Regions from separate parts of the Homo sapiens genome. Here region 1 is linked to region 2. Evidence: promoter capture Hi-C in 16 types of primary human blood cells and fetal thymus (Javierre and others, 2016). All regions are on one chromosome and are shown on one strand. Each heading gives the region's core, a stretch centred on a gene start or on the middle of the fragment in contact. The rest is flanking DNA. Distances are from core to core; before and after follow the strand shown.

Region 1 (3,165 bases), core at 338-2,837, 1.3 Mb after region 2:
TGTAACCATTAACTGATAAAAACAACCAGATTTTGCAATATACTGGAACCTCTGCCACCATTACCATCCCATGGGCCCATTCTTGGACATATCTCTATCTCTGCTCACTAGAAGTAACCACTATTCTGAGTTTTATGGCAAACACTTCTTTTCTTTCTAATTTTATCCTAAACCATGTGGTCCAGTTTTGCCTGTTTTTAAACTTTTTATAAATAGAATATGTGTTCTTTCAGATTCAGCTTCTTTTACTCACCATTATGTTTGTGAGGCTCATCTCTGTGTAAACAGTTGTAGTTCTTGATTTTTATTGTTGCTTATGATCTTATTATATGCATGGACTGCAATATATTTATGAATACAACTTTTACAGGATATTTTAAGAGAATTGCTTTGGCTATTCGAGGTCTTCTGTTGTTCCATACAAATTTTAGGATTATTTTTCCTATTTTTGTGAAGAACATCACTGAGATTTTGATAGGGATTATGTTGAATCTGTAAATATACAACATATGTGTAGTATGGCCACTTTAAAAACCTCAGTTCTTTCAATGTGTGAACACAGGATTACTTTCCATTGATTTGTGTATTCTTCAATTTCTTGCATTAATGTTTTATAGTTTTTAGTGTATAGGTCTATCTCCTCTTTGGTAAAATTTATTCCTAAGTATTTTTAATGCTATTATAAATTAGATTATTTTCTTGAATTTTTTCAGCTAAGTTATTTGTGTATATAAATGCAAGTGATTTTCATTACATTGATTTTGTCTCCTACAACTTAACCAAATTTATTTCTTAGTTCTAACCGTTTTGGTGGAGTCCTTGGCGTTTTCTACATACAGAATCATGTCATCTACAATTAGAGATAACTTCTTCCTTTCCCCTTTGGATGCCTTTTATTTCTTCTTCTTCTTCTTCTTCTTCCTCTTCTTCTTCTTCTTCTTCTTCTTCTTCTTCTTCTTCTTCTTCTTCTTCGTCTTCGTCTTCGTCTTCTTCTTCCTCTTCCTCTTCCTCTTTCTCTTCTTCTTCTTCTTCTTCTTCTTCTTCTTCTTCTTCTTCTTCTTCTTCTTCTTCTTCTTCTTCTTCTTCTTCTTCTTCTTCTTCTTCTTCTTCCTTTTTTTTTGATCTGATTTCTCTGGTAGGACTTCTAGTACTACATTGAATAAAGGTAGCGTGAGTGAACTTCCTTGCTTTGTACTGATCTTAGACAAAAAGCTTTATTTTTCCCCCCATTGATTTTGATGTTAGCTCTGACTTTCTCACAAATGGCCTTTATTATGTTGAGGATGTTTACTCCAATACCTAAGCTATTAGGAGTTTTTGTCTAAAAAGGATGTTTAATTTTGTTGAATCCTTTTTCTGCTTCAATTGAAATAATCATGTGGTTTTTAATCTTGTCTTTTCTATAAAATTTTCAAGACCACTTCCAAATATGAATTCAATTACACTAAACCAAATTCACGAATCATTTCAGAAGATCTAAACATGAAACTGGTTTTGCATTTCAGATTACTGATGTTGAATCATGCTTAAAACCATTTAAAATGAAATTTCTACAGAATGTAAATGGTCAGAATATTTAAGAGCCAAGTTACTAGCTACTTTTTTGCAAATCAGATGTATTCATTGAAAAATTGCTTCCCTTAAATATTTAACATCTGAAGATGCTTAGTTTAAATTTTCGTATCTCCATTTCAGAGTTGAAATTAAGATGTGAATAAACCCCTATTTTAAATAATATCCCTAGATCATGTAAGAATTGATACTTTAATCCAGTGATGTCTCCATTTCTAATTGCTTAACATTTTTCGAATTTATTTTCACATTTGGGAAGTGTATTCGTATCTCTTACTAGCATTTTACATTTATCAAACATACTCTCAAAGTTACTTTCATTTGTTGTAAACAAAAGGGTAGGTCTTCTATGAAGCCAGCTGCTTTATATAAAGACTTTTCTTTTTAAATAAAGCTTTCTTATTTTTTCCTACTTGGTTCAAAATATCCCACCAAATTAATTTGCATAAACATGTGCAGTCTCTTTGTGCCAAGATGCTTTAGATTTCAGCACAATGTACTATGTCATTTAATATTATATCATTAATATTTGATAAACATCTTTAGTTTGTGTGTGAAGTGCCATAATTTTGTTTGTTCTTGATCCCCATTGAATGTCCGTTATGTTTTTAATACAGTTTTTAGGACAGATATAAGGATATTCTATTGCTCAAAGCTCAAAAATGTATTAATCCTTTGTACAATACTAAAAAAGAGTATCATATTTCAAGTCACCAAATCAACATTATTACAAATCAAATCAGAATTATTAGTTGAGTAGGCACAAATTTAGCATAACAATTTTTGAGGGAAATAATGGCTTGTTCACCATTTATCTATCTGCCATCTTTGCTTCATTTTCATATCCTTGGCCAAGAGCATTTTTATGTCAATATATTGAAAAAATTTCATAAGGCAAGCCATACCCAGTTTTTTATTTTATTTCAATAAAAAGTCAACCAACCTTTCTTTCCATGGTTTTGTCATTATTCTCAATGAGAGCATACTTAAACGCATCTGTTTATCATAGGCAACATCTACATATGTTTACAATTCAAAAGAAAGAATTTTTTCTTCCTTTTAAGTTTATTTTTAAATTGACAAAACAGTTTATATTTACCAGGTATAACATGTTGTTTTGAAATATATATGTTATGGAATGGACAAATTGAGTGCATTACCATAAGCATTACCTCACATACTTATGGTTTTTTGTAGTAAGAACGCTTAAAAAGTACTTTCTTGGCAATTTTCAAGAATATAATACATTGTTACTAATGACTAACTGCAGTCACCATATTGTTCAATAGATCTTTTGGACTTATTCCTCCTATCTAACTGAAATTATGTATCCTTTGACCAACATCTTCCCAATACTACACTCCTCCAGCCCCTGGTAACCACCACTCCACTCTCTACTACTATGAGTTTAACTTTTTAAGATTCCATATGTAGGTGAGATTATGCACTGTCTTTCTATGCCTTGCTTATATCAGTTAACATAGTGTCATCCAGATTCATTCATGTTGTCTCAAATGACAAAATTTCCTTCCTTTTTAAAATGGCAAATAGTATACCATTTTGTACATACTATTCATACATTCTCTTTATCTA
Region 2 (3,436 bases), core at 460-2,959:
AAGAATAAAAATTTTACAGGTGAAAATCTATCAGATTATCTCACCTTAAATCATGTAATAACCTTCCAGTGCTATAAAGGTACCTAGACTTCTTTCAGAACTGTCTAGGTACTTGGCAACTAACAATTATTCATTGTTTACTTTTGGTCCAATTACATAATTCTCAGTTGTAGGCAACTTTTTCTGATTTAACCTATCATTTGGAAAGTGAGTGATTCTTTAATTTAGTGATCTTTTTTCTGCACACATAATGATATCAGATCTTATTTTTCATAAAAAGTCTCTCCTTTATCAGATGCGGGAAAGTAGTCCTTTACAAATTTAAGTTTACAAAAAAAAATTCTGGTGACATGCACAAGCTGCCTTCCCTAAACATCTAGACATTGTTTTCAGCTAAATATTTTTTTTAAAAAAACAACCTTTAGTCATATTTAAAATAGGCAGCTTAGTAAGTCAAAGAACTCCCAATGCAGTGAAATAACAAGTAGGCTATTTCGAGAGACCACATGTGTATTTCATAAACAATACGCAAGTTGTAGCAATACCTCTGTCCACAAAATCTGCCCAAAATAGCCCCACCACTGACTTTAATAGGTTAGATATCCAAAGCAGAGTTTTCTTTCTCTATCCCACGGAGGAGATGGGTAAAATAGCCAGACTTGACAGCTGATATTCTGAAGAGTTCTCTTTTTAGTTTTTCTTTAAAAAGACTATTCTTTTCCATATCAACGATTTCATTTTGGAGGCAGTCGCTGAGATAATCTCAGGTGTAAAATAAGCTAATTAAACACACGCCACTTAAATACTGAGATTAGCTGGAGCTCAGGTTTTCAGAGCAAAGCAAGAGCACAAATCAACCCCGCTGAGTTGCTGCTACTCCTGAGATAACCCGACCCCATCACGGAGATTCCCAGGTGGCTGCGAACGTCAACGCTTAGCAGGAACGATTAAGCGATTCACAGCACTCAGGGGATTGTGTAAATGCCCGGCCCGGGCGACCAGCAGGGACAGATTCAACTCCCCGGGCGCAAAGTCATCTCCAGCCCGATCCTCGCTCCCCCTGAAAACCCACCGCTCGTCTCCCCGGGAGCTGCCTCCGTAGGAGAATGTTCGCCCCCAGCCGCGCCCCAACTTTGCCTTGCGTGGTCCCAAACTTTCCCTGGTGGATTAATAGGAAAATAAATCTAAAGGACAGACGCCCCACCTGTGAGCTTGGAGCTGGGTTGCATTTGGTGAGGCGCTTGGCCCGCATCCCCCTGAGTCGTTTGTAGGTGGCTGGGGAATGGAAGCGCCCCTCTGCGCGTCTCCCCCGACGGCAGGCCCTGCCCCACGCCCCCCATCCCAAGCCAAAAGCAAGGGTAGGAGAGGCGGGGGCTCCAAATCCACGCCCCGGAGCACAGAGAGTTGGCTAACTCCTAGCGGGGCCTGGGGCGCCCACATCCACGGCAGAGCCACCTGTGAGCCTGCAGAGCAGCAACGGGATGCGCGCAACCGGGATGCGGGGACGACCGCCACAGCGGCTACAGCGGCAGGCGGGGCGCAGCCGCCCGCACTTACCAGGATAAGATGGGAGGACGCGCACACGGCGGGGCCCCCGAGCGCGGCCCGCCGCTCCAGTCCGCCGGCCCTCCGCCTACCCGCTCTGAGGCCCGGGCTCTGGCTCGCACTGGCTGCCGCTCTCGCCAGCCGGGCTGGGTTCGGGAGGAGACTGAGCCGCTGTGAGCCCGGCGCTCCGAGTCTGGCGCTGCCCGGCCCCCGCCGGCCCCTCCCTCTGGGCTGTGCGCTGTGCGCTGGGAGCGGGGCCGCAGCGCGCTCAGCTCCCGAGTCCTTTGCTCCACGCCTCCTGGGCGCAGAGGCGACGCTGGCAGCCGTCTCTTAGGAGATTTCTCCGCAGTGTGGACGGGGGTCAGGATTTGCAGGCGAGCAAGGGCAGAGAGGAGAAATCGTACAGGTCGGTGACGCGCCTAATTCACAAAGCCTGAAAGTGCTGTCAACTTTGGGGTCATCTTATGCTGGGCACCGCCTCTCCAATTATCTGCAAAAAGTGATAGCAGTCGCGCTTTTCTTTAGGAGGCGATGTGATGTGTAATGGTGGAAAAGACGTTCAATGAAAAGGCACGGAGGCCTGCAGGACAGGCTGTTGGGGTCCAGGGTTTCTTGAGTGTTGGATTTGGATGCTTGGGACACTGCAGGGGCTTCAGTCTTGCAGGGTGACCTTTCATTTCATGGGTGATGAAAGTGAGACCCAAAACCCCGTGTCATTTTGAATCACTGACAGGCTTCGGCTTTTGGCCTCGGGATGTCCAGCCCAGTGCTCCTTCCTGTCCTATCTGGAAAGCAAGATCCCCTTGACCACAAGAAATAGAATCAGGCTTGTTGGGGATGAGAGACTAGAATCTGGGCCAAAGAATGGAAGACGGTGGTAAGACAAATTGGTAGTGAGGGAACCCCTTTTACCCAACCCTGTGACCACCAGCAAAGCTGCCAAGAGGTACCCAACTCGTGAAGCTCTGAAAGCTTTTCGCACATTTTCCCCTCTCCTTACCCTCCATCCTTCTGTTCTCTCCCCCATCCAAGAGGGTTTCTTCATGCCCTCCTTACAATGGGGGTAATGGGTATATCCTGAGAGCTCATGACCTCTGACTTAGAGTACAGCTCTGTAGTCAGACCTCTGGGCCTACTCATCAATAAGTAAAGGGAAGCCTAGGGAACTTAGAAATATTTTTCTTCCCCCCACCCCCCAATCAAAGCCAGGCATTCAAGACTCAACTTTTCTTTTTCTTTCTCCTTTCGAGACTGAATCTTGCTATGTTGCCCAAGCTTGTCTTGAATTCCTGGGCTCTAGCCATCCTCCAGCCTCAGACTCCCAAGTGCTTGCAGACTATAGGTGCCTGACTGAATTTTTTTATCTTTAACTTTTAATTTAGAAAATTTCAAACATATACAAATGTAAGAAAGTAGTATAATGAATCTCCATGGGGCCATAACCAGCTTGAACAATTATGAACTCATGGACAGTCATATTTCATCTATACCCCTTTTTCCTATGTCATCATTTTGAAGCAAATCCCAGAGCATCATATCATTTTATCTGTAAATATTTTCAGAAAGCAAGAAAACTATCAACTACCACTAGGGTTGTGTCAAGAAGGGGACAATTCAAATAGGCTGTCACTGACCAAAGACGGGCTAATTTGAGCATCAAAAAAAAAAAAAAAAAAGATAATCGCAATTGTTTAAAACACATCAAACATGATTATATCTATTAATTGATAATATTTTAAAAACAACTGAACAGATTGATTGCTTGATGGTTCAGAGGGAACCAGCTCATAATTTTCAAAACTGTTTTAGGAAAAGGAAAACAATTGTGCATTTATTTTGCCTTTTCTATACAAATTGGACCTCTGGGTAACCAATTAGGCTTTATTTTTAC

The links. Contacts are between HindIII fragments. The CHiCAGO score rates a contact against its expected background, and 5 or more counts as called.
Region 1: a fragment that was not itself captured here is called in contact with the fragment with the promoter of SLC24A2 in region 2 in 2 of 17 cell types (naive B cells and activated CD4 T cells); the score reaches 7.7 in naive B cells.

Annotation. Positions count from the first base shown.
Region 1 is chr9:21,123,371-21,126,535 of GRCh38, forward strand. No RefSeq gene overlaps it. Among named protein-coding and RNA genes, the nearest start is that of IFNW1, 17 kb to the right of the region's middle. The HindIII fragment of the contact is 754 bases long and covers 1,211-1,964 here.
Region 2 is chr9:19,787,328-19,790,763 of GRCh38, forward strand. It overlaps SLC24A2 (solute carrier family 24 member 2), which reads right to left and starts at 1,710. Exons shown (of 11, transcript NM_020344.4): 1 at 1,558-1,710. LOC124902128 (a long non-coding RNA gene) reads left to right here and starts at 1,832. Exons shown (of 2, transcript XR_007061432.1): 1 at 1,832-1,951. RefSeq lists an enhancer at 626-1,273. The HindIII fragment of the contact is 3,775 bases long and covers 1-2,515 here.